Linked DNA regions of Homo sapiens: all the other regions are linked to region 1. Evidence: promoter capture Hi-C in 16 types of primary human blood cells and fetal thymus (Javierre and others, 2016). All regions are on one chromosome and are shown on one strand. Each heading gives the region's core, a stretch centred on a gene start or on the middle of the fragment in contact. The rest is flanking DNA. Distances are from core to core; before and after follow the strand shown.

Region 1 (3,615 bases), core at 327-2,826:
GGAAGACACAGGGAGAAACACGGGGAGGTTGGGGTGCGGGGGTGGGGGAAGGGAGGGTGGACAGAAATTTGGGCCTGGCCCACTGTGAAACTGTTACCTCTATTCAGTCCAGTAGGGAATCCAAAGAATTTCCATTGCAATTGTGACTCTGAGAATATTTCATTGCCCGATGCCAGGTTCAGAAAGCCACTGACCCCATCACCCCGCCTCTTTATACGCTCGGAGCTAATGATTGGACGCTGGGAGGTTTTGGGGAAAAACAAAAACCCAACATCTGAAAAGGTCTATGCTCGCTAGAAGTTAACAGTCAAAAGCTCTGCCACTTAAATCTTCTGCCTCTTAAATCTTCTCTGAGTCAGCCTAATTGGCAGAGCCTAATTTGCATACAGAACCCTAGCTGCAAGGAAGTTTGGGTAATGTAGTTTCCAGGTGCCCTACCTCTGCAAACCAGGAAGACCTACTAGGAGGACGGAAGTCGAAATGAATGCTGAGCACCGGTCCACTACATCCACCAAGGGTGTGTAATTCACTACCACCATCATTTGCATATGATGGTAGTCCCCTGTAAATACAAACTTCAAACAATCAGTGCTCTCAGAATCCAGCTATGATCTAACCTGGGGGCCTTAAAAGGAAGCCACAGTGGAATCCAATGGAAAACAGGAACCGGCATTATCTAACAGATAATTCCTAGTGAGGAAGACTGGAATTGGCCTCAGCATGCAGGGGCTGACCTTATCTGACCCAGAGAGATGGCTTTCCCACTCATACCTCCACAAGACCGAGCCTAGGGGTCCTAACCACCAGCCCCGCTGCCTCTTCCAGCATCTGACCCTCTCGGGAGGCAGTCTAGAGTATTGGCAACGAGGACAATGTCTTTGGGAAGCCAGAACTGTGCCTTCGTATGTTTTGATCATCACCACCATTCGGTGGTTATTTCCATGAATGTTTATCAAGGACGAAAGGACAGAAATGAAAAACACGAGATCAACCACTGGGGTTGCTGGTGAAATCCAGACCAGAGAGCGATGGCCCTGGTCCAGAAAGCTAGACAGACACAAGCACAGAATCGGCCCCCGTTGAGTAGAGGGCATTGGAAAGTAAGGAATCTCGCAGGCAGCCTAGGTGGGGTGTGGGGGGTCCCCGTAGCTGCAGGGTGGGGTGGGGGTGGGGGTGGGAGACGTCCAGGGGCGAGTCAAGGGGGAAGACGGTTGGGAAGAGAGGAAGCCACTGGGTGCAGGGGTCCCGGGGCGGCGACAGACCTCGGCCCCCATCCAGGAGCCCTCACCACGCAAACGAGCAGAAGGCAGCGCCAACTCCCACTCCAGCGCCCGCCTGCCGGAGCGAGCGCGGCCCCTTTAAAAACCATGTAAACAAAGCTTTGTTCCCCCAGCTGCCCCTCCTTCGCGCTCCCCCGGCCCGCTCCTTCCTCCCACCCGGCGTCTCCGGGCCGCTGACGTTGCCCGCGCCTTTACGCCGTCCCAGCGGTGCTGCGCATTCTCCAACCACGGCCCGGGCCGCCGGGGCCTGCGCAGCTGAGCGGCGCTACGCCACGAGCGCAGCGCGACGAGTCCCCAGCGCGCAGGCGCAGCGGCGACGGCGTCGGCGGCGGCGGCGGCAGCGGCTCCGGCCGAGGTGCGCGCTGGGGGGGAGGGGGGGCCGGAGAGGAGCATGAATGGAGCAAAATGGCGGATCATGTGCAGGTGAGAGGAGCCGCGGGGGGGAGGGGGCGACCACGAAGAGCGGCGAGTGGAGTCGGGGGTGCACACGGCCCACAGGGCGCCAGCCGGCTCGGGACTCGGCAGGCCCGCGCCGCCGCCACTCGGGGCTCTGGAGCCGCCGCCCGTCCCGGAGCCCCGGGGCCTTTCCCGCCTCCCGGGCCGGGGGCCTTCTCCGTCCCCTCCCACCCGGTCCCACACCTCGCGCGCGGGGCTGCAGGGACAGGAACGGGCATCCCGGCGCGCGCAGCCCACAACGTTCGTCAGTCACTGTCTTCGTCCCCGGGGGAGGCCTCCGTCAAGTCCTCGGGCCCCCCCGCCCGCCCCCCGGTGAAGCGAGGGGGACCCCCTTGCTGACTTTACTGAGGGGGACGCCCCCATGACGCCCGCCATCCCTCAGCAGATAACAAAAAGGAAACCTCGCGCTGATAAACCTCGCTCTCCGGAGTCTTTCCCGCCGCCTTCCTCTCACGCCCCGGAATACGAGAGACCCCCCAGCAACCCCGGCCTCCTTCCCCCTCCCACGGATGCGCCCTTCCCTCCGACACTCCAAATCGTACAGCCCGGAGGGCCGAGCTCCCCGGTCTTCCAAAATGGGTGCTCAGGCCTCGGCCCGCCTCCCCTCGCGTCCCCCTAGCCACAGTGAAGGAGTTGAGCGCCCACACCTCCTATGAAACACGGGGTGGAGGGGGGTGTGTCTGAAATGAGAGATGCAGGGTTGGGTGCAGACGTTGCTCGGGAGGGTCTTGATCCGGCTCAAGAGCTGCTCCTAGCGTGCTGTGGGGCCAGGCCACTCTCCTCAAAGACAGGCACAGGCCCTAGAAAGGGACAGCCCATACCAAACCCAGTAGCAGATGGAGGACTGCAGGGTTTAATTTCTTGCAAACTAGATAAAGTTTTTCCTGTCTGTGCCAGAGATCTGATATTTTTATGACAGTTATTGATGCACATCCATTGTGGGGAACCTTCCAATTTTCTAGGTAACCAAGTGCACAGGTTTTGTGTTGTGGCAAGGAAAGATTAGAGGGCAAGAAGTGTCGCCTTTATATTCTGTGGCATCATTCCTCAAGTAAGAAGAATGATCTCATTCTTAATACGTCTACAAGAATCTGGAGTGGTGTGACTTCTGCCCCTTTCTTTGGAGAGAAGGGACTAAATAAAAGACTTAATTTTCAGGCCAGAGATCAGTAAAGTAGATCTTCGGAGTGTGCGGGACAAGTTGTCAGGACAGAATTATAGCAAGAAACGTAATCACAGGTGGAAAACCACGGGATTTGTGTTTCAAAGCCAGTACCTTGGCTTAATTCAGAAGTGACAGTAAAAGTTGATACAAGGAGATGATAATAATGATAATAATAATAGTATAGCACCTTGCGTTTTATAGCAGTCATTTCTAAGAAGCATGAAATATTTTATGTGATTTTTAAAAATTCTTGGATCTTACAAGACTCAGGCAGGAATTACTTCTGTCATTTAAAGGAACAAAAACCAAAGCACAAGAATGATAATGAGATTTGGTTAAGGTAAGTCTAAGTGTCCCAAAGTCTTTGGAGTTTGGGTCCAGTGCGCTTCCTTACTGGGGGTTGGGGGGATGTCTATGAGCATTCTAGAACAGGCTTTGAATAGATAGCCTTTGTGAACCATGCTTCGGAATGCAGAGGGAGTCAGTACTTTTATGAATATACATCGTGCTATTTGCTGTTTCCCGTAAAGAAATATCTCTTAATGTGATCTCCCACATTTTCGAAGCATAAAGGTTGTCATTCCTGTGAAAGTCAGGATGCATCAAAGCAATCTTCACAGCATTTGTCGCTCCAACGAAGGTCTGTCTTATTTTTAGTAAGATGTTGTTCTCCCACTCACCACTCAAAAATCTACGGAAGTAAGAATTTATTAA
Region 2 (3,615 bases), core at 585-3,084, 1.7 Mb before region 1:
CCGATACACATGTGCATTTTCTCAACAGATGTTTGTTAAATAAATGTTGGGGTTACCACTCTACGTATACACATTAGACCACAACTAATTTCTATTACCAGAGTAAAAAGTTAAAAACAGGTTTTTTTTAAAGTAAAAGCCATGAACTACTCCTAAAAGAATAACATAAAAATTGTAACAACTAACAGTCTGATATTCACATATGAAATTTACCTACCATTGTGAAAAATTGGCATGAGAAGACTAGATTTGTAATTTTTATTAAAAAAGTTGTTATGCATTGTATTTGAAAAAATCAGTACAAACACCTGTTAAAGCAGTGAAACTACATAGAAAGATTATTAAATTAAAAATAAAATTTCTCCTACTGTTCACATGTTAATCTACTTTACATGGCATTTTGCAATTGCTTTTTTATTTTAAACCTAATAATGTGTCTTGGACTTTTTTTAAAAAAAAAAACTCAACCCTTGAGCCTCCACTGAATTCTTTTCAAAAGTTTGAGAAATACCTTTGACTTAATAGGCTATAACTTATGAATGGGCATTTAGATTGTTTCTAGGTTTATGCTATTACAAAAATTTTTTTTGAATATCTGTGTGTATGTATATATACATGTATATGTCTGTAGACCATATATAATAATATATACCATATGGTGCATGACGTAATGTATTATATATAATGGAAAATATTTGTCACATACACTGAGTGGATAGATAGATACAGATATATCTACAGAGAGAGAGAACGATAAGTTCCTAGTACCAAAATATTTGAATGAGATATCACCAAATTGTTCTTCTAAATATCATACCAATTGTGCTCTTATCAGTAAAGTATTACAATTCCTGTTTAATTTTACACGTGCCAACTTTGGACATTAGTTAAACTTAAAAATTATAATCTTCTGGGTGCAGTGGCTAACGCCTGTAATCCCAACATTTTGGGATGCCAAGACGGCGGGATCAATTGATGTCAGGAGTTCGCGACCAGCCTGGCCAACATGGTAGAACCTCGTCTCTACTAAAAACAAAAATTAGCCGGGCGTGGCGGTGGGCACCTGTAATCCCAGCTACTTAGGAGGCTGAAGCAGGAGAATCGCTTGAACCCGGGAGGCGGAAGTTGCAGTAAGCCGTGATTACGCCACTGCACTCCAGTCTGGGCGACAGAATGAGACTCCCTCTCAAAAGAAGAAGAAGAAGAAGAAGAAGAATCCATTCCATTGCTCCGGCCTCCAGCCTGGGCTGTCATCCTACACTAGTCCCACCCCTTACACAGCTTCCAAATCTGCCCCTATTTTTCACACCGCTACGCACATCCTATAACAAGCCAATATATGTTTGTCGAATGGATACATGCGTGAACGAATTGGGTAGGGAGTAAAGTGAACTAAATGATGCCACATGTGTTAATAATCACTGAAACATGTTTTCCATTGCTTCTGTTTTTCAAAGCGGTTTTCACAGCTTGAGTTCTCTCCATTCAGCGTCACGAAAGCCCATTCGAAATGGATATCAGCTGACGTTGGCCTGCACGCGTTTGCCTTCCTCCCCTCACTCCGCTTGTGCGCCTCTCTTTCGGCTGGCTTTCCTCTCTCCTTCCATCTCCCCTCTTTCGCTTCCCTTCCCTCTGCGCCCGCGCGCGCCTCCCAGCACGCTGGTCAGCTCCTCTTGCTCGCAAGCAGGTCTGGCCCCAGCGGCGCGAAGTCACGAGGCTGGGGGCGGCCGGCGGCGAAGGGGGCGGGGCGAGGCCGGGGCGCCGCAGCGCGCATAGGCGGAGCCTCGGGCCGCGGGCCGCCTTGGTATATCTGCGCGTGCGCGGCGTCGCTGCTGGGCCAGTCGGGACAGAGGAGACAAGATGGCGCTGCGGGCGATGCGGGGGATTGTCAACGGGGCCGCACCCGAGCTACCCGTGCCCACCGGTGGGCCGGCGGTGGGAGCTCGGGAGCAGGCGCTGGCAGTCAGTCGGAACTACCTCTCCCAGCCTCGCCTCAGTGAGTATCAGAGAGTAATACGTCTCCGGTCTTTGCTCCCTAGCCTAGCCCTTTGCTCCCAGTCACCTGCTTAGCCAGCGGGTAGGGGGTAGGATTTGTTTTTCCCTCCCGCGTCTCCCCTCCGACCCTGACCCACTTGTCTCTTTAGAAGGAGATTTGCCTGTACCTAATATTTCCAGGAGATGGGCTGAGGGCAAGAGCACCAGCGGGAACTTTTTCCTGGGGTTGGTGGGCTCCTGGCTGTTGCCCTACCCCCTCCCCTCCCCAGCTTCCCTAGGCTGGAGCCTTCTTAGGCACTTGCTTCCCGTCCCCGAGGGCCACTTCTTGCCACTCCGATCTTAATCTTCCCCTGACTTCATTTGGATATCTAGGGGTCGAGGGAACGCCCCTTCTCCCCTCCCCCTGGTGAGGACCTCAATGGGGTCTTCAACTCCTGCGGAGGGCAGACGGTAGAGCCTTCGCTGACGTGGTCAGGCCTTTCGTGGATGGAGGTCAGGCCAGTAGCCAGAGGGAGATGTGGCTTGGTGTTTGGTGGAGGGGCTGCTCCGCAGAAGGACACCTAGATATCAGAGAACGCTAGAGCTGAAAAGTACCTTGCAGGTCATCCAGTCCAACCCTATCATTTTACAGGTGAGAAGCCTAAGGTTCTGGAAGGGGTAGGATTTGCCATGCTTCAGACACTTAATTATTGGCAGAGCAGGGACTAAAAATCCAGGTTCTTAAATTCTCGCTGGGCCTTTTTCTACCGTTGCCTCTTCATTTACTGACCAGTTAACCAAACTTGGTTGAGTGCAGGGTTCTTTGGGGAAGCCAGGTGGCTTTGCCCATAGGTGGTGTGTGTGCATAGGCTTGTTTAAATGTTGTGATTTTTTAAATAAAAAGGCCTTAATGAACTAGGTTTAAGTGGATAGCTCAGCAATTCCAAAAGAAATGGTTCTTGATTACTAGAGAATGCAGTTGTGTAGCATCCAACTTCTTCACAGCTTTCTTCGGAACTGGCAATGAGCCCTCGAAATAGACTTTTTAAAAAACTGGGAAAAGCACATGATGTTTCCCCAGGTGGTGAGACTGCATTTTCACTGGTTAATTGCCAGAGTGTCTGTCTCTAGGTGGCCGACTGATTAAAAAGGATTTCAGATGAAGGGTGTTAGTCTGGGCGATCTGAAGCCTGACTAATCCACATCCTGATCTGTCACTGGGTCATGTGATAGCACTGCAGTGTGAAGAAAAAGGAAAACATTTGATTCGGTGGATTGCTGAGATGTGCCTTTTACAGTAACTGGGAATTGTTCGAATTAGAAAATGTATGTTGGGACTTATCTGAGCTGAAGTAGCTACTTCAGGAAATCGGCAGATGTTGCATTCTTATGCAAACCTTGGCAATAAATTTATACCTACGAATTACAAATTCTCTTTTATTAATTGCGTTTGTATGCATTGCCTTTCTTTGGGTAGAACAGATAGACATTAGTGGTGCCTCTCAAAAAAGGTTATAAAGGTGCAGTAGTCAGTTTCCATATAATTAATCATTCAGTGTCAATTCAGAGAATATCAACTGAAATAACGTTGTTTAAAGAGTACTCCATGATTAAGATTGTAAACCTTTAAGAGAGATGAAT
Region 3 (3,615 bases), core at 298-2,797, 1.7 Mb before region 1:
GCTGTAGCACGCTCCTTTGAAGATGTCAGAGTAGCACTTAGAAGTTGGATTTCATAATGCTTTAGGGTTCTAGTTGATTGTAGGTGAACATGCACACCTATAGTCTGGTATCCATGTCTCTAAGGGAAAGATCGTTTATCACCATTCTTATTTTGTGCAGTGCAATGGACTCCTGACTTTGTGACCTTCAGAAATTGTTTAATTTTTCTGACCCTTGATTCCAACTGTTAATTGGAGGTAGCACCTTCCTCATAGGGTTGCTGTGAGGATTAAGTTAAATAATGTTGTAAAGCGCAGCAGATGATTCCTCGTGTACATTTCCTTCCCTTTTGACCTTTTTGGGATTAGGTTAGATAAATATGGCTAGTTCCACCACGTGGAATAAATCTTGTGAACCAAGAATCTTTTCTGTTTTAAAATTAACTTCCTTTGATTTATAAAATTGCAAACAGATTTTCTTCTAGCAAACTATTTGAAAACTTACATTATGGCAATACGATTTTAGCAAAAACCTTCTGGTGCCCCATTGTCAACATTTTTGTTACAGAATACTTTGAATTTATGTTGCCGGGAGATTTTTCTAAATCATTCTTAAGGACAGTATTTAAAATGAACATGATGGGATTTTCAACTTTGTACTTTGGCATGTTGAAACAAACATGTTGTAAGCAAGCTTGTTGTAATATCGTGCATGATACTCTTCTGCTTGACCTGCTGTCAGGTTTCAGCAGCCAGGGAAGAGGTACCTGGTCGACGAGGTTTTCCAGGTTACATGTATACAGATTTAGCCACGATATATGAACGCGCTGGGCGAGTGGAAGGGAGAAACGGCTCGATTACTCAAATCCCTATTCTAACCATGCCTAATGATGGTAAGTTTTGGTATTTGGATTATAACACACCTAATCATTTTAAAGAGAGAGAAGACCCATCTACCTTTTCGAGTTGAAGTTATTTTGAGAACACATCCCCTAAGAGTTTATCTTGGTTATTTGCCTAAATAAAACATTTTTCATTTGAAAATTACCCACAGTTATTATCCTATTGTGGAGGAAAAGCAATTTTCTTCATAATTTAAGTTTTTAACTTTATTAGGTACTATTGAGTGCCTGCTGTTTGCAGGACACTGTTCTAAATGTAAAGAATTTTTGAAAAGAATTTATGGTCTCTACTTAATGTAAGTTACTCAGTCTAATTGGGGATGTTTTTTATGTGTGTGCACCGGTAATTTAACATGGCCATGTTCAGTGCCACATGAGGAGTACAAGTGGGAAACTCCACAAAACTGAGAGACAGATTTTTTTAACCAAGGGCTGGTTAAAAATGACTTTCCAATGCCTGTCTGTGTGTGTGCCCAGGATGGGGTACGACTATTCAGAATTCCTCTCCTGTGTTGCCTCTTTGTCCTTATTTCAGTTTTTGAACAACACTTTGACAAAATATGGTAAGTTATTACTTACTGTAATTGAGCACTGTTCTGAGTGCTTTATAAATATTCACTCATTTGCTCCTCATAGCAACTTTGAGGCAGATGCTGTTTGAGGCACAGGGAGGTCAAATGATTTGTTGAGATTAGCAAGTGATAGATTTAGGACCCAGTTTGAGTTCATAACTCACACTGTTACTCTGTACTGCCTCTGACGTGAAAATGATTTGTTCCAAGGGAGTAGCTACAAAATGATGTAATTTAACAGATTTGGAAATGTGTTGCTTTGTGTGACCTTTTTGGTGCAGCCTGTGTAGTGTTGTTTACTTGTCTATATGCCTGCGTTTTGCATGGTGAAATGTTGTGTATCCATCCGACATAGCTTATGAACTAAGAATGTTCTTAGTATACATCAGGTTGGCAAATTTCTATAAGGGAACTTTGGGTTTAAAATGAAACTTTACTTATATTGAGAGGGGAGAGCGCTTACCTAGGGGAGAGAGTATTTTTAATGAATGCAGCCAGTTTACCTCATAGAGCCAACACATGTCTAACTGCTGCAACCAAACTAAACTGGCCAGTATGGTTGCCGCTAGCCACATTTGGCTGTTTAAGTTCAAGTTAACTGAAATAATTGAAATTAAGTTTTTCAGTTTTGTTAGCCACGTTTCAAGTGTTAGATAGCCACATTTGGCTAATGGCTACCGTACTGCACAGCACAGACACAGAACATTGGCAGCATCACAGAAAATGACTCTAAGAACACTCTTCTAAGTAATGTTACAGGTAGTACAGAGGGACTTTTTGTGGGTTTGGTTCTGAGAGATGGCCGCTTTAAAACTCATAACCTAAAGATGCCATGCTTAATGCCAACTGTCTTCCTCTGGTAGATATCACTCACCCCATCCCAGACTTGACTGGCTACATTACAGAGGGGCAGATCTATGTGGACAGACAGCTGCACAACAGACAGGTACTGGACGGGAGCAGTGCTGGGAAGCTTGCAGACCTGCTCATCCGTTATTCTTTAGTGACTTGGATTTTGCTCTTAGGAATTGCTTTGCTTAGAAAGTATCAACTTGAATTGTTTTTAATATGGTTATAAAATTGTCATTTCTATTATCTTAAATTCTGGTGTCGGCAGAGCGCCAGAATTAAGAATCTTCTTAACACTTTCCTTTATTGTGTCTTAAAACAGAGTCACTTGTCTCCAAGAACTTTTTTGGGAATTCTGTTCCATAATGGTATCATCTACCAATCTTGTTATTGATAGAAAAAAATGACTTTTCCATGCCTCTCTAGTAGATGCTGACTTCTAAAATCAGCTTTTAGGAATTATTGTTAATTTTTTTTATTTTGTGTATAATTTTTTGAGTCAGTTCAGAAGACCATTTTGACTCGATAATGTGGTAGTACTTATCAAACAGATGTTGAAAGTTGAGTTTTTTAAAATAGTCTTGTACAGTGTTATAGATGACACTTTTTTGGATTTGATTCTCGAAAGAAATGCTATGCTATAAAGTGTTTCTTACTACCTTTTCTTGCCAGGAAGAGACAGTAGGATTCATCTAGGAGACAAATGCAGCGGTTGTCTTTGATTTAAGTTGTAATAATGAGTTTCAAATGTTTTTTTATTACCAGTAAAACTTGAGTTTTGTACTTAAATATAGTATTTTTTCCCTCTCATTCTACCCAAGATTTATCCACCTATCAATGTGCTGCCCTCACTATCACGGTTAATGAAGTCTGCTATTGGAGAAGGGATGACCAGGAAGGATCATGCCGATGTATCTAACCAGCTAGTATGTACATTCTTCTAAGAATGGTGTTTGAAAATATGGATACGTTTCTGCTGTCTTACACCTCTTGTCTTTCACCCTTACCACTTCTCTCTTCCCCATCCACATGGAATTTTAGTGTAGGCTTGATGTGGAATACATAATCATTCATTAGAACCAAAGCAGCCTTTTCCCATAAGGACAGATGCAAATGATCAAGATTAGCTTGAAACCCATGTCTAATGCTATCAAGTTTCCAAATAAAAAGCCAAGCAATGAGGTTGTTTAAATTTTTTATTAGCAATTTTAATGTTAATTATAGAGTATTCCTGAAAGGCTACTCTGACCTATTTCTTGCTTAACATATTAAGCCGTCACCAGAACACTAAAGTATACAGTTTTATGTAGGCT
Region 4 (3,615 bases), core at 566-3,065, 1.6 Mb before region 1:
CAGAGAGCCCACCGCACCAACCTGGTAGTTATGTTGTGAGGATAAAGGAGATAACGTATGAGATAACGTCTATGATGAGCAGAAAGAGCCTCCAAAGAAAAGCGCTGGATAAATACAAGGTGTAACGCCACGCCTGATTAGCCTGCATGCTCTCTGCCCACAGACTTCTACCCACAGACTATGTTCCACTCCACTCTTAAACACAAACACCTTTCCCGTCTGTACATGCTATCTCTAATACCCATATGCGCACACTCTTCGGGCACCTCCATTCTCCCTCTGGATGCCTGCAGAAAATTGTTTTTGAACTTAGAGAAAGCTCAGGTTGCAAACACCCTCTTGCCGGTACCCGCAGACTCTTCTCAGGGTCTTGGTGCAGGAACTGCCAAGCAGATAGCTCATCTCTTTGTGGCTGGGCTCCTGGGCTCCCAGCATTCCTATTAGGCTGCACTTCCAGCAGAGTGTGGGATCCTTATTAGGAGCAGCGCCTGCCCGGCATGGTCCAGAACTCAGTGCCTCCTCAGTACTTTCCCAGCGCCCGGGACCAGAGAGTAGAGGGGCTGATGGCAGCGGGACGGTGTGGAGGGAATAAGTGAGACAGGAAACACTTTAGGAGGCCAGATCCCTAAGCACTTCTTATTCCTGGGAAATTGAAGACTGCGAAGCTAACAAGTCTGGAGCACTTTCCCAGGCCTGACATACTCGTGGGCGAGCACAAGGCTCATTTGCTCCACAGTTCAAACCTTTCCACTTGGAGCACGAAAAAGAGACATCACCTGGCCCTTGGTGTCTCGGGGATGCCTGTTGCTGCCAAGCTGCGACCTCTGAAGCCCCTCCAGCCAGAGCAAAGCCTGTGGCAGGGTGGAGGGGTGAGGTCTGGCTGCCTAGGGTGGCGGTGGAAGAAGTGAAGGTAGTGTGGGGCTGTCTGTGTGTGCATGGTGCTTTGACTAAATTCCTGAATTGCACATCCAGGACCGACCCCAGGAAGCTGCAGCCCCAGGGAGCCACTTAGACACTTCGATTTACCACCTTCCTCTCTAACCACCTCCGCCCGTGTGACTTATTCCTTGAGGGAAACCTTTCAAATCTCTGGCTGCAACGCACCGGTGTCCTCCCCACCGGTGTGGACACAGCTCATCTGCAAAGTTCCAGGCGGCGAAGTTCAGCGGCCCGGACCGACCGCCGGACCCTCTTCCTGCGGCCCCTGCTCCTGCGGCCTCGCGTCCCCACCTCCCACTTCTTCACCTCCGACACCAGTGTCACCTAACACTGACGTCCCCGCCAGGATCAGCATCGGTGCTGGGAATAGACGAACCCCGTCTGCAGGAGACACGAAGACAAAGACAGGAGGACAGACGCACAGTCACCTCCTCTGGGCCGGGCCGGAGAAGCGGCGCCCACCCTGCAGAGGGGAGACCCTGACAGCTCCACGCGGAGACAAAGACACCTCGACAGCCACGGACACAGACAGACAAAGACCGACGGACGCGCGGACGCACGGACGGTCCGGCCCGGCGAGGGGAAAGCGGTTTCCCGCAGCCAGGGCAGCAGACCCTCCAGGGGCGAGGAGATCCCCGGCCACCGCACCTTACCTGCCCCCTGCGCCTCGGGCGCACTTGAGACTTTTTTTTTTTCCCAGTGTTTCCCGGTGTGTTCCCGTCTCTCTTTTTCCAGAGCTGCTGAGCGGGCCGGGCCGGTCCCACTGCGCGGGATGCAGCTCCCGGCTCCCACTCACTGGCCGAGGCGGGCAGAGAAACTTTCGGCCTCCCCGCCCGGCCGCTGCCAACCCGCCAGCTCCAGGCGCGCCGGCCTCTGCGCGGGTCCCGGAGCCGGGGCGGGGCGGGGCGGGGCGGGGCGGGGCGGGGCCGGCCCGGGGCGGGGCCAGAGCCGGCGCCGCTGATTGGCAGCGAGCTGCCGGCAGCCTGGTCTGTGCCGCTCGGCGGCCTTTGTTCCGGGCTGACAGCTGGGGCTGCTCGCGACCTCGCGGCTCCTTCGCGCCCGCGGCCTGCGCGGGGTCCCGGGTCCCGTCTCTCTGCTCTCACTTCCATCAGCCCCATTGGGCGACCCTGCCCCCTCAGTCTTCCTTTCTTGCCTGGCCCCCTTTCTCCGATTGTTCCTGTCTTGCTCTTGTCGCATCCTTTTTTCCCTTTCATTACCTGAAATTCTTACTCCAGTTTTGTTTAAAATCCATTCCTTCTCCCGTTCTGTGTATGTTCCCCTTTCTTCATTACCCCTTCCTCTTAATCGCCAGTTTATTTTTCTTAATACCGTCTCTCCCGCTCCCGACTCGCACTAAAGGGCGTGTGTTTTGTTCAAGGACTGGACTAGCACCCAAGTGAGGGGCATTGCGAACCACACCAGGATTACAGGCTAGAGTCCAGAGCACCGGGACTCCCACTCCCAAAACATGTCAAAAGCAAACTTTTCCAGCTCTGAGGGAGCTGAGTTTCAGGTGACAGCAGAGGCCTGTTTCAAGTTTATAGCTATTAGTCTCACCCAGTCCCCTTATAATACTATCATTTTCTCAACCACCCTCACTTTTAACTTCTAGCAACTGAGCCAGGAGAGGATTCAAGCTTACAAGGTTTTGTAGGACAAAGGGTCAGTTAACCGGAGTGCTAGGTGCAGCATGAGGCTTGGGGGCTTGAGGGTGCACTGAGGCTAATCCTCTAAAACCAGGCTTGGCGGGAAGATGGCAGCTCTGCCCAAGGAGTGTTAGCCTCATCTTGAAAGAAGCCTGTGTGTGTGTGTGTGTGTGTGTGTGTGTGTGTGTGTGTGTGTTGGGGGGTGGGGGATAGATGTAATGGATTAGGATTGACATAGCCGATCTGATTATAAATAGCATGGGGGCCGGACGCGGTGGCTCATGCCTGTAATCTCAGCACTTTGGGAGGCCGAGGTTGGTGGATCACTTGAGGTCAGGAGTTGAAGACCAGCCTGGCCAACATGGTGAAACCCCGTCTCTACTAAAAAAAAAAAAAAAAAAAAATACAAAAATTAGCTGGGTGTGGTGGCAGGAGCCTGTAATCCCAGCTACTTGGGAGGCTGAGGCTTGGGAATTGCTTGAGCCTGGAAGGCAGAGGTTGCAGTGAGCCAAGATAGTGCCACTGCACTCCAGCCTGGGTGACAGAGTGACACCGTGTCTCAAAATAAATAAATAAATAAATAAATACAAAAAAATTAAATAGAATTGTGGTGGCAGGGGGGACAGCTCAAAGGAAAACAAGCCATATGGTTTCTGCCACACCCCTGCTCAAAACCCTGTAGGGGAATCTCACTGCCTTCGGTTGTTGACCCTGAAGACTCTGACCTTCGAATCTAGGCTTCCTGAAAGATGGCACCGCGAGGGTTTAAGAACACAGACAGGCTTCGCTGCTTGTTATTTGAGCCATTACCTTCCCCTCCCTCTTTCTCAGTTTTTCTTTTTCTTTCTTTCTTTTTTTATTTGTGAAATGAGGTAACAAGTCCCAGTGTAAATTCCCTGAAGGCAGGAACTTGTTCTCTTTTATTGGTGGCTGAGGGACTTGGTCTGTTTTATTCATAGATGTATCCCCGACACCTAGAACTTGCCAGGCAACATAGTAGGCACTCAATATGTATTTGTTAAATGAATGA
Region 5 (3,615 bases), core at 737-3,236, 1.5 Mb before region 1:
GGGAAGGCTGAGTCAGAGACTTGGGAACTTGGTTGGAGATGTCCAGCAGGCGATTGTGTGTGGATGGGTCTGAGGGAGGAGTGAGGCAAAAGGCTGGCTGGAGGTGGGGACTTGAGGCTCCTCATCTTAGAGTGGTGTCCACATTGAGAGTGCCTAAGCTTTCCCCAGAGAGAAGGTGTCCAGGGGGCTGGGGACATCAGAAGGAGAAGCAACAGCCCATCAGGGAGTCGAAGAACAAAACAGAATGCCAGAAGAAGAGAACTGGGGCAGTGGGCTCTGCCTGAGCCAAGGACAGGAATGTAGCAAAGGAAACTGAAGGGCGGTGTTATGGACTGAATGTTTGTACTTCCCCCAAATTCACATGTTGAGGCCCTATTCCTTAATGTGATGGTGTTTGGAGGTGGGGCCTTTGGGAGGTAATGAGGTTTAGATGAGGGTGGAGTTCTCATCATGAGATTAGAGTCCCCTTAACGAGAGACAAAGCTCTCCCCTGCTGCCCAAAACCATATGTCAGCCCTGCGAGGACACAGGGAGAAGGTGGCTGTCTAAGCCAGGAAGCAGAAAACATGACCAAGGCTGGGACCTTGATCTTGGACTTCCTAGACACCAGAACAGGGGGAAGAAAAAAGTCTGTTGTTGAAGTCACTGGTCTCTGGTATGTTGTTATAGGAGTTCACTAGGGTGAACCCATTTCCTGATTCCTCTGGGACCAGGAATTCATTATGAAGAGCTGTCTTCAGGGGAGAGTTGGGGCAGATGTTTGGCTTAATAAATTAAGGAGTAAATAGGAGACGTGGAAATAGGAGCTGTGCATGAAGACTATTCTTTCTTTTTTTTTCTTTTTTTGAGATGGGGTCTTGCATTGTTGCCCAGGTTGGAGTGCAGTGGCCCAATCTCAGCTCACTGTAACCTCTGCCTCCTGGGTTGAAGCAATTCTCCCACCTCAGTCTCCTGAGTAGCTGGGATTACAGGCACCCGCCAGCATGCCCAGCTAATTTTCTGTGTTTTTGGTAGAGACGGGGTTTCACCATGTTGGCCAGGGTGGTCTTGAACTCCTGATCTTGTGATTCACCTGCCTCAACCTCCCAAAGTGCTGGGTTTACAGGTGAAAGCCACTGGGTCTGGCCGATTGAAGACTATTCTTTAAAAACCTTTGGCTGAGAAAGAGAGGGAAAGAGTTTATCCAATAGCTACAGAGGATCAAAGTATCTAGGAGGTCTCTATGAAATGTTTGTTCTGGGGCCGGGCACTGCATCTCGCTTAATATTCAACTGAAAAGTCTTGGTATGAAGGACATTTCCATATCCATTGATGGTCACTGCTGAAGGGACGACTGAGTATCTTACTCCATTCCATTTCCCTGTAACTCCATTGATAACTTTTGTTTAGAACTCAATGCCAGGAAACAGTTGTTTCTTCTGAATAAACATGCTCTCTTTCTTTCATCTGACAGTAATGGCTTGCAACATGTTATGTTCCTTTTTTTACTTTGCCTGCTAGGAAGCCCAGAGGCCAATTTATGGCTAGCTATAGTGAAGAGTCTGTTTCTGGCTCTTGGCACAAAAATCTCCTCCTTTGCCTAGATGATTTCTGATTCCTTTTACATCTTTATTTTATATTCACATGTATACAAGTACAGTTGTTATGTTTTTTTAAATGTTCAATATAAGTTTATTGAGCAAATAAAACCTGCAAATGGTGATTTTCTTCATAAATTGAAGTACTTCGATTGTCATAACATGTGTTCTGCACGTAGTTTTTGACCAAATGTGAAATGTTTCTACAGTTAAACTTCAAATGCGAGTCATTATGTAAATATCATTTTATTTTAAGCTGTAGAAAATCCTTCCTGAACATAGGGAGGGTATAAATCACAAAAAACGGGAAGAGGCTTAACCTCTCTGCATCTCAGGTTCTCCATCTGTGAAATGGTGATAACAGTTCCTGTCTGCCTGACTCAAGAGATAATGGATATGAAAACAATTTGATGGGAGCAAAACATTACACGAAGTCAAAGTAACATAAATAATATATTGCTTTTTGTTGTTGTTTATATTCCTCAAAATGTGTAGCATGAGTCCTTGGCTGATGTATGGAAAATGGAGCTTGGAGTGAGAGTGGTCTTCATGAGACTTTTTGACAGTCCACAAGTCAGTGCCTTATTTTCAGAGGGTGATTGGCGTTTGCTGTAGGGTAAGGCTGACTGCCCATCTATGGGGTTTCCCAGGTGTTTGGGGTGGGACGAGAGTGAGGGGGATCAATGGTTAAGAGGTAACCTGCCTTCCTTGTTACGCCGGATGGCAGGCCTCTCTCCCTGGGATTTTCCCAGCAGTCTTTACGGAAGGCTCTTCTGCTGGAAGTTACAAAGAGCATGAGGTGATGTGTGTGGGAGAAGCAGTGCTGAGGTTGATGAAGAGCCGCCAGCCGCCTGCAGGCCTGGAGGGGGCCATTTCTGCGTTGCTGTGCGGTCTGCAGGGTGATCGAGGGAGAAGGGATGACGGATGGGAGCAGGGCTTCCTCCCTGCCTTGGTCTGCTGGTTGGCCCATCACTCACACCCCCTGATGGACTGCCTCCTTCCACAAAGGCAGGGCTATAGGGTGGGTTATAGATGAGCTGCTGTAAAAACTACTTTTTCTAATTACATTTTTGAGCTTGGGATGTGGCTGTCCATGGGAGGTGGGAGGTGCCTGATTCTGGAGGAGGAAGTGGAGAAATAAAGTGAGAGGAGAGTGTGGGAGGTTCTTGGGTTGTGTCGATAACTCTATTTAAACAGCTAAGAAGCATCTCTGGGTTTCAGGACTGGCTGTGGGTGAAACCATGACTGGGCTTTGATGATCTTTCCTGGATTCACTCACTTATTCACTCAACAAACACCTCCTGAATGACTACAATGCGTGAGGCACTGTGTACAAGGCATTCTCTAGACAGAACTTGTCGTACTTTATTTTGCATGTGAAGCACTCATGGATTTTTTTTTTTTTTTTTTTTTTTGAGACAGAGTTGCTCTGTCATCCAGGCTGAAGTGCAATGGCATGATCTCGGCTGACTGCAGCCTCTGGCTCCTGGGTTCAAGTGATTCTCCTGTCTCAGCCTCCCAAGTAGCTGGGACTACAGGTGCATGCCACCATGCCCAGCTAGGTTTTTATTTGTTGTTGTATTTTTAGGAGAGATGGAGTTTCACCATGTTGGGCAGGCTGGTCTTGAACTCCTAATCTCAAGCAATCCTTCCACCTTGGCCTCCCAGAGTGCTGGGATTACAGGCGTGAGCCATCAGACGCAGCCACGAATTTTGTTAAAACAGAGTGTGTTTCAGTGGTTATGGGGCAAGGCCTGAGACTCTATATTCCTGACAAGCCCTGATGTCCGCCAGTGCTCCTGATCCACAGAGCATACCCTGTGTGATAGCAAGAGCCCTGGACACACAGTCAGGTACGACGTGGCCTCCCCACATCCATGTCATTTACATTGTGCCTCGAGGGTGAGCTAGATTTTTATAAGTAAGAAGAGGAGGAGAAGGAGGCTGGGGAGAGTGGGGAAGATGCTTTCCAAGGCTGATAGAAGAGTGTGAACGGAACATGCTCGTGGGCAGGTTAGTTCCGAGAGAGAGGAGGATT
Region 6 (3,615 bases), core at 426-2,925, 1.4 Mb before region 1:
CTTAACCCCTCTGGAATAGGTTACATCATAAAGATTCAGTATGTTTAAGGATTAAATTACATCTCCTGCATCTCCACAGCAAATGATTCAAAATGTCCTTGATTTATTTAGGATCCCAGAGAGGTTTTCTGACCTTACCCAGCAGATACACAGGCTCTGTCGTGGGTATAACAGCCATCAAAGCAGCGATGGGTGGTGGCAGCAGCAGCAGCACTCATATGTTGAAAAATCAAAATAAAACCAGGCCAAGCCTGGTCTTTTCGGTTCCTGCTCACAGTAAGAAGGGAAAGGCCCAGGGGCCTGAAAATCCTCTGCTGTGGAGATGCAAAGGGAGATCTGTAGTTTGCAGGTGTCTGGTGACCTTCTAGTCCTGCAGGCAACATGGGGCAGGACGCTGCTGGAAGCTTGTGAACTTGGCCAGGTGGCTGGGCCTTCAAAGGCTTCCCCTACAGCATCTCTTTCTGTGCCTAGCAGAGCCCAGGGCTCACACAGCGGGAGGTACTGCATCCTGGCTGCAGGAAAGTGCCTGTGAAGCCAGCTTGGAGCTGATAGAAGCAGTGAGGTGTTGGCGTCAACTCTCACCTGCAGGTTTCTGGTTCTGACTTTTGGCCATTTGGTGGGGCAGTCTTCTCCCAGGAGTGCACAGATCTGCCTCTCCTTGGTTCAGGAGAGTGCAAGAGGGAAAAAAAAGAAAAAGCAGTGAGGGTTCTAGTAATGGGACTTGCTTCCCAAAATTTGGAGAAGAACACTTCAGGGATACAGGGTTTCCCAGAAAGCAGGAATTCTGTGCCCTCTTCATGTAAAACTTCAATGGCTTTTAGTAAGAGGCTCCTTCATGCACGTACGCACGCACTCACTCACTCACTCACTCACTCACCCACTCACTCAACTCCATATTTACTGAGCACCTGCTTTAAGCAATGCATGTTTTAGGTATGAATTTCCAGGTCTTTCAGAATCTGTTTCTACCCAGATCTTGGGATGCTTGCCGATTGCTAGCCCATTGCTAGATGCCAAGTTCAAGCCCCTATGCACTTTCCTTTGTCAAAAAACCCCATCTCACTCTACCCCAATCTCCATTGCTTACACAACAAGTCCCAGCTCCTGGATCTGGCTACAGGATCCTGAATGTTCTAGCCCACATTTCCCACGTCAGCTTCCTGTCTTGCCAGTTCTTGCCTCAGACTCTGCAATCTAGCCTCAATGAAACTATTTCCACATGTTCATTCACATATTCAGTCATTTATTTCTTCATTTTTATTGTGTACAATATGCTAGGCACTGTGTTAAGTGCTCTGGCTATATCTGTGAAAAAAGGTGGCAGGACCGTACCCGCAGAGACTTAACTTCCAGAGACAATAAGTGAGCAAATAATTAACCATTGCAAGTTGTGATGTGTCTTGAAGGAAATAAACTGGGTGATGTGATAGAGAAGAGTGGATTAAGCCTGGCCAGGAAACATCTTTCCAAAAGAGGCGACAGGGAAGTAGGTAGCTGTGCTAAGATCTTGGGGACCTACCTCCTGAGCAGAGGGACAGTTAGGGCAAAGGCCAAGGCCTTGCTCTGTCAACCTCAGGCCTTTGTTCATTGCTGCTGTTTTCTCTTTGGAACCTTCCCAAGCCCAATGTTCCTGATTCTGGTGGATGTCTCTTCCTCCAGGAAGCCTTCCCAGATCACTGCACACTGAGGGAGTGCCTCTGCTCTTGCTCCACTTGCCTGCCATGGTTCTTCATTCACCCTCTGTGCTGTAGGGTGCACCCAAGGCACCCAGCCATTGACTTGGGAAACTCAGCCGTAGCCAGATCCATGTCTGCTTTGTTTGCTAATGCAGCCTGTTGTAGGTTGAATTGGGTCCCCCAAACCAATATGTTGAGGCTGTAACCCCTGATACCTGTGAATGTGGTCTTATTTGGAAATGAGGTCTTTACCGATGTAATCAAGTTAAGATGGGGTCATACTGGATTAGGGTGGGCCCTAAGTCCAGCGACTGCTGTCCTGATAAGGAAAGAGAGATTTGGAGACAGAGACAGCCACTGGGAAGAAGGCCATGGGAACATGGAGGCAGAGATTGGGGTGATGTAGCTGCAGGCCAAGAGCGCCGAGGACTGCTGGGGGCATTAGAGGCTAGGAGAGGTGAGGACGGATTCTTTCTCTAGAGGACCGATTCTAAGAAGGGTTCTAAGAGGGGGCATGGCCCTACCAACACCTATCAACACCTTGATTTCAGACTTCTAGCCTCCAGAACTGGGAGAGAATAAGATTCTGCCGTTGTAAGCTAACCAGCATGTGGCACATTATTTCAGCAGCCACAGGAAACTCACACAGAACCCCAGGCCCTGGGGGACAAGGGCATCCTTGTCCAGCATTGGGCTGAATGAATGAACCCCATCAACTGCCTCCTCCTCTTATTTTTTTTTTTTTTTTGAGACAGGGTCTCATTCTGTCACCCAGGGTGGAGTGCAGAGGCATGATCACGGCTTACTACAGCCTCCATCTCCCAGGTTCAAGCTATTCTCCTGCCTCAGCCTCCCGAGTAGCTGTGATTACAAGGTGCCCACCACTAGGCCCAGCTAATTTTTGTATTTTTAGTAGAGACAGGTTTCACCATGTTGGCCAGGCTGGTCTTAAACTCCTGACCTCAAGTGATCTGCCCACCTCTGCCTCCCAAAGTGCTGGAATTACAGGCGTGAGCCAGCATGCCTGGCCCTTCCTTTTGTGCCCAGCGTGTGGCCTTGAAGTCCCCTGTGTCCAGCCAGGGATGACTCCTTGCAGAGCACAGCCTGCCAGGCAGGAAGGGGGCCACCCTCCTCCCTTGTGTTTGCATGTGGAAAATTCTTCTTGGCATTTCTTGGGAGAAATTTATATTTTTTGAATCCTGATTCCTGAGAAAAATCAGTCGAGAAGTCAGGAAAATGGGAAAAAGTATTATAAGTCTCTTGTGGGAATTAAAGCTTGTAATCAACATGCAGACCTTACAGTTTTGAAGGAAGGCACTGACGTTGAGTTGAAAGCAGAGTCAAGGGTTAATATCAACATTTCTGAGAGCCAGGTCAGAAGGAGGTAGAGAGGTGGCTGTGACCTAATCCATCAGTCTCTCATAATCTCGTGGCTGAGTTAACGTACGTGTCTATGGCCCTGTCTGCTGCACGTGGTGCATCCTTCAAGCAATTAAAATACATATCACTAAATTTATGTGCAAAGTGTACTTGATACAGAACTGTTGAATGGTGTTCTAAGAAATAACAGGTTTTGGAAGCAAAATAAGTCCTTAATGTGGCCATTTGACACATGATTCTGTGTGATGTTGTTCCTCCTTGTTAGGAGATCTGACTGTTACGTGGTTCACCTGCCATCCAATAATGTTCTCTGGTGTTTCCTGGTGTTTGAATATTTTCTGTAGGTTATGGTCCTTTGTAAGCAGAACTAAGCTGAATATTTCTTGTTTATTAAACATCTTCCATAATAAATATAATTATAATAATAAAGACTATGAAGAATGTTGGAAGTATTTAAAAAATAACAAGATTTTGGACATTTGCATTTATTGGTTCTGAATCTGGAAGATTAATTAATATCTGTCGGGAATCTGGAAACACCATAGTTCCAGCTTATAAA
Region 7 (3,615 bases), core at 304-2,803, 1.4 Mb before region 1:
GCAGGAGTTACAGCTCCCCCAAGGATGATAACAGTTGCCTTGCAGCTTTCCCAACCTCCTCAGTGTGCAGGCCCCTCCCCACCTCTCCCTCCTGGTATCTCTACTGCACAGACCCATGCTCCATCTGAACACCAATCTCTTAGGCATTGCTATTTACATCTTCCTACATATCAGTTATGCCTCTCCATGTCAATTGTGAGCTGCTTGAGGGGAGAGACTTCCATATTCTTCCCTGTCCCCATACAACAGTTAACACAGGCACATGCCCTGTGCTCTCTAAGTAATTGCTAAATAAATACATTTTAAAGGAATGTTTGTGATCCTTGATAACACCGAGCAGTTTTCATTTTGCAGGCTGACACCTGTTGGAACCATAACATCAATTTTGCGGGCTGTGACATCAAAATGCCCCTAGTACGCATGAGTATTATTTGCTGAAACTTTCGTTTTTGTCTTAAATGCCTGTCACAGGCTGGGTTGTGGTTTAAAAATAAGTTTCTTACTTTTGATCATGGTTTGAAAAAAGAAAAAAAACAGTGACAGGATGCGTATGACAAGGCTCCTAGCTTGGATGCTGAGCCCCTTGTGGGCAGAATCAAAGACATTGGGCACCAAGACCTCCCAGCTGGAGAGGAAGCAACTGGTTTCAGAAAAGCTCTCCTGGGGTTGGGGCGGATTAGAAGACAGGCAGTCAAGAGAAGAAATGCTCAGGGGCCTGAGCACAGTCGCTCAAACTGCTTATTGTCTGGGCAACAAATAGGCACTGCAGGCGCACCTAAAAACCTCAAGTGTCTTTCCTTCAGAAAGACACAAAGCACTTAAGACCCTGCAATTGCTCAAGATTTTCCTCTAGGGATCCTTGTTTTCTCTAGAGCTTTAGATTGTAATAGAAACACCGTTGCCTTCATTCTTTTCTCACTTATTAAGCTGAAAAAGTAATCTGGAATCTTTAGCCTTTGGAGATTTGGCGATAATTTCTTGATGCAAAATTTGTATAGACAGCTTGACCATGATTGAAAGACCACATGAAAAAATCCTTGAAATTGAAATTGAAATCCTTGAAACTCAAAATTCTAGGACTGGAAATTCTTATCACCTATAGATGCTTTGAGGTTGAATTCAAAGTGTCATTGACCCAGGCACTGTTGGGAGTAGGAAGCCTTTTTTCTTAGGGAATTTGAGCCTCAACCTCTGTCTGCACTTTGCAGCATTGGCTGTGATGGGGCTTGTCTTGGCTGTGATGGGGCTTGTCTTCTGGTTCCATGTTCTGGACAAATGCTTCCACCTTTCTTTCTGGAACGCCTGCCTAATGTCTGGCTGTCTGCTGTTTGTACTCTGAAAACTACTTTAATTGGGAAGGTAAAATACAGTCTCAAATGCCCTTTTTGTGCCTTGTGAAAGCCCTCTAAAGCTTAGCTTAACTCAAAGAGCTTAAATCAATAGCACCGGCCCATTTTCTAATCACAGGGAATTTAATAATGATCAGGAAAGCCATTATCAGTCTGATCTGTGGGACTGTTTGGACTTTAACTCTTGGAAAACAGCTTCCTGTCAAACTTACATACTGTTATCATATAAAATGTCACTGAGAAGGGTATTAAAATCCCTCTTTGGAGAGAAAGCCTTATAGGGGTTCTATCAAAACTACTCTGTATGCTGATGAGTTAGGTGCTAGGAGAGAGAGAGAGCTAAAAACAAGCTTGGAGGTGGAAAGGAGGGAATTGTTCTCTTTTTGCCACAGCACACCCAAATGGAGAAGGGGAGGCTTCTTGGTGTCTGGGTCTGTAATTCAAGAAGTCCCTTGAGACACCTCAGCCCAGGGGCTGGAAAGTTCACGTCTATCCGCTGAGGCCTGGGAAGCCTGTTGGGGCCCCTGAAGGGAAGGGTGAGAGGAGAGCAGCCATGTCGCTCCATGGCTCCTGGCAGAAGTGTGAGGCTCCTGGACTCTGGTGACTTAGCCCCATTTACCATCACAGAGACATATAATACAGGCATTTGCCTACTTAGATCCCAGCCATGTGAGTTTTGGAAGTCTGCTGAGGTGAATTTCAACCCTGGTTACCATAATGCAGTTGGGCCTTTTGTGAGTTGAATGTGATGTTGTTGTTTTTAGGGATTAAATGTTCAGAGAGAACCACTGACTTGGGGTTAGATGGTTGGCCTTTAACAAAACCCTAAAGGAACAGGGTGTGAACAGTTACATAACAAAAGATAAGAGGAACTACTTGAAAAGCTGAGTTGGCCAGCATGGTGGCTTATGCCTCTAATCAGCACTTTGGGAGGCTAAGGTATAAAGAGCACTTGAGCCCAGGAGTTCGAGACAAGCCTGGACAACATAGTGAGACCCCTCATCTCTATAAAAAAATGTTAAAAAAATAGCTTGGTGTGGTGACACGTGCCTGTATTCCCAGCTATTCACAAGGCTGAGGTGGGAGGATTGCTTGAGCCCAAGAGGTTAAGGGTTGGCCAACTCTCTGCACCTGGGTTCTTCCAGCAGCCAAAGACTTGTAGAGAAGAGAAATGAGTGCATGTGGGCTCCGGGGGGCACATTCCTCCATTGTGTGCTCACATCAGACAGTCTCCACGATCCCAGCCAGCTCCTGGGGCTGTGACCTCCTGGGGTCCAGAGTCTTTCCTGAGCCACTGCCATGAAGCCAAAGTCCCCAGAGTGAAGCTGCCTGCACTGTGTCCTATGTCACCAGCCCTGGTTGCCCTACTTGACACAAATGGAGACCCCATCTCCATCTGACTTGTTTAAGGTCTTAAGTCTAAAACCTCAGCATCTTCACAACTCCACTTGCCTTATCCCTCCCCCACCAGATCCCCCCCCTCCAGGACTGCTAATCTCTCCTGCTGGGATGCACGTGCTCCCACCCCACATTTTGCAGGTTTTAACCCCTTTGGCTCTTTCAGATAGGCCTTAACCTCCTTAAGAAACTTATAACACATGGAGAGCGAAGGCCCAACACTGATTTTACATATTAGAAACTCAAACTCCGAGGTGGTCCGTGAGACCCTGTGGCTGGTCGGTGGCAGCAGGTGCCCAGGACACTGGCCTGGGCCTTATTCCTGGCCTGTGTGCCTTCTGTGTACCACCTGCCTGGGATGTCTCCATGTTGTACATAGAGAAGACTCTGGAGGGGGCCTTAGTACAAGCTTTGTTGCCCCAAAACTGAGTGATTGAGGGAAATACTGCAATCCCTCTGGTCTTCCTTTCTTTTTCTGTAAAATGAGGATAATCATGTCTAATTTGAAGCTTAAATGTATTTAGTGTTCCTAGCACTAGAACTGGCATGTAAAGTACTTAATTGAACTGTCATTGACATGCTTCCTGAAAAATTACAGGAAAAATGGATCCTGAAGGAAAATTGGGAGTTATGGACTGCATGATTTTGTTTCCCCAAATTCATAAGCTGAACTCAGAACCCCCGGTGTGATGGTGTTAGGAGGTGGGGCCTTTGGAAAGTGATTAGGTCATAAGGGTGGAACCCTCGTAATGGAATCAGTACCCTTGTAAGAAGAGACAGGAGAGAGCTTGTTTTTGTGTTAGGCTGTTCTTGCGTTGCTACAGAGAAATACCTGAGACTGAGTAATTTATGAAGAAAAGGCATTTAA

What was found. Contacts are between HindIII fragments. The CHiCAGO score rates a contact against its expected background, and 5 or more counts as called.
Region 2: a contact is called between the fragment with the promoter of ATP6V1B2 here and the fragment with the promoter of XPO7 in region 1, in 2 of 17 cell types (fetal thymus and naive CD4 T cells). The highest score is 7.8, in fetal thymus.
Region 3: a contact is called between a fragment that was not itself captured here and the fragment with the promoter of XPO7 in region 1, in 1 of 17 cell types (endothelial precursors). The highest score is 5.9, in endothelial precursors.
Region 4: the fragment with the promoter of LZTS1 here is called in contact with the fragment with the promoter of XPO7 in region 1 in 1 of 17 cell types (fetal thymus); the score reaches 5.1 in fetal thymus.
Region 5: a contact is called between a fragment that was not itself captured here and the fragment with the promoter of XPO7 in region 1, in 2 of 17 cell types (naive CD4 T cells and non-activated CD4 T cells). The highest score is 6.4, in naive CD4 T cells.
Region 6: a fragment that was not itself captured here is called in contact with the fragment with the promoter of XPO7 in region 1 in 1 of 17 cell types (naive CD4 T cells); the score reaches 6.4 in naive CD4 T cells.
Region 7: a fragment that was not itself captured here is called in contact with the fragment with the promoter of XPO7 in region 1 in 6 of 17 cell types (naive CD8 T cells, naive CD4 T cells, total CD8 T cells and 3 more); the score reaches 20.6 in naive CD8 T cells.

The regions. Positions count from the first base shown.
Region 1 is chr8:21,918,086-21,921,700 of GRCh38, forward strand. It overlaps XPO7 (exportin 7), which reads left to right and starts at 1,577. Exons shown (of 28, transcript NM_015024.5): 1 at 1,577-1,703. The coding sequence starts at 1,686. RefSeq lists a silencer at 1,494-1,933. The HindIII fragment of the contact is 3,017 bases long and covers 1,378-3,615 here.
Region 2 is chr8:20,195,547-20,199,161 of GRCh38, forward strand. It overlaps ATP6V1B2 (ATPase H+ transporting V1 subunit B2), which reads left to right and starts at 1,835. Exons shown (of 14, transcript NM_001693.4): 1 at 1,835-1,996. The coding sequence starts at 1,861. RefSeq lists a silencer at 1,609-1,888. The HindIII fragment of the contact is 6,568 bases long and covers 1-3,615 here.
Region 3 is chr8:20,214,097-20,217,711 of GRCh38, forward strand. ATP6V1B2 (ATPase H+ transporting V1 subunit B2) reads left to right here. Exons shown (of 14, transcript NM_001693.4): 10 at 722-872; 11 at 2,317-2,399; 12 at 3,124-3,228. Among named protein-coding and RNA genes, the nearest start is that of ATP6V1B2, 19 kb to the left of the region's middle. The HindIII fragment of the contact is 1,753 bases long and covers 672-2,424 here.
Region 4 is chr8:20,302,148-20,305,762 of GRCh38, forward strand. LZTS1 (leucine zipper tumor suppressor 1) reads right to left here and starts at 1,816. Exons shown (of 4, transcript NM_021020.5): 1 at 1,593-1,816. RefSeq lists a silencer at 1,806-1,875. The HindIII fragment of the contact is 16,584 bases long and covers 1-2,574 here.
Region 5 is chr8:20,450,269-20,453,883 of GRCh38, forward strand. No RefSeq gene overlaps it. Among named protein-coding and RNA genes, the nearest start is that of LZTS1, 150 kb to the left of the region's middle. The HindIII fragment of the contact is 3,660 bases long and covers 157-3,615 here.
Region 6 is chr8:20,476,268-20,479,882 of GRCh38, forward strand. No RefSeq gene overlaps it. Among named protein-coding and RNA genes, the nearest start is that of SNORD3F, 140 kb to the right of the region's middle. The HindIII fragment of the contact is 2,547 bases long and covers 403-2,949 here.
Region 7 is chr8:20,492,880-20,496,494 of GRCh38, forward strand. No RefSeq gene overlaps it. Among named protein-coding and RNA genes, the nearest start is that of SNORD3F, 120 kb to the right of the region's middle. RefSeq lists an enhancer at 477-1,015. The HindIII fragment of the contact is 288 bases long and covers 1,410-1,697 here.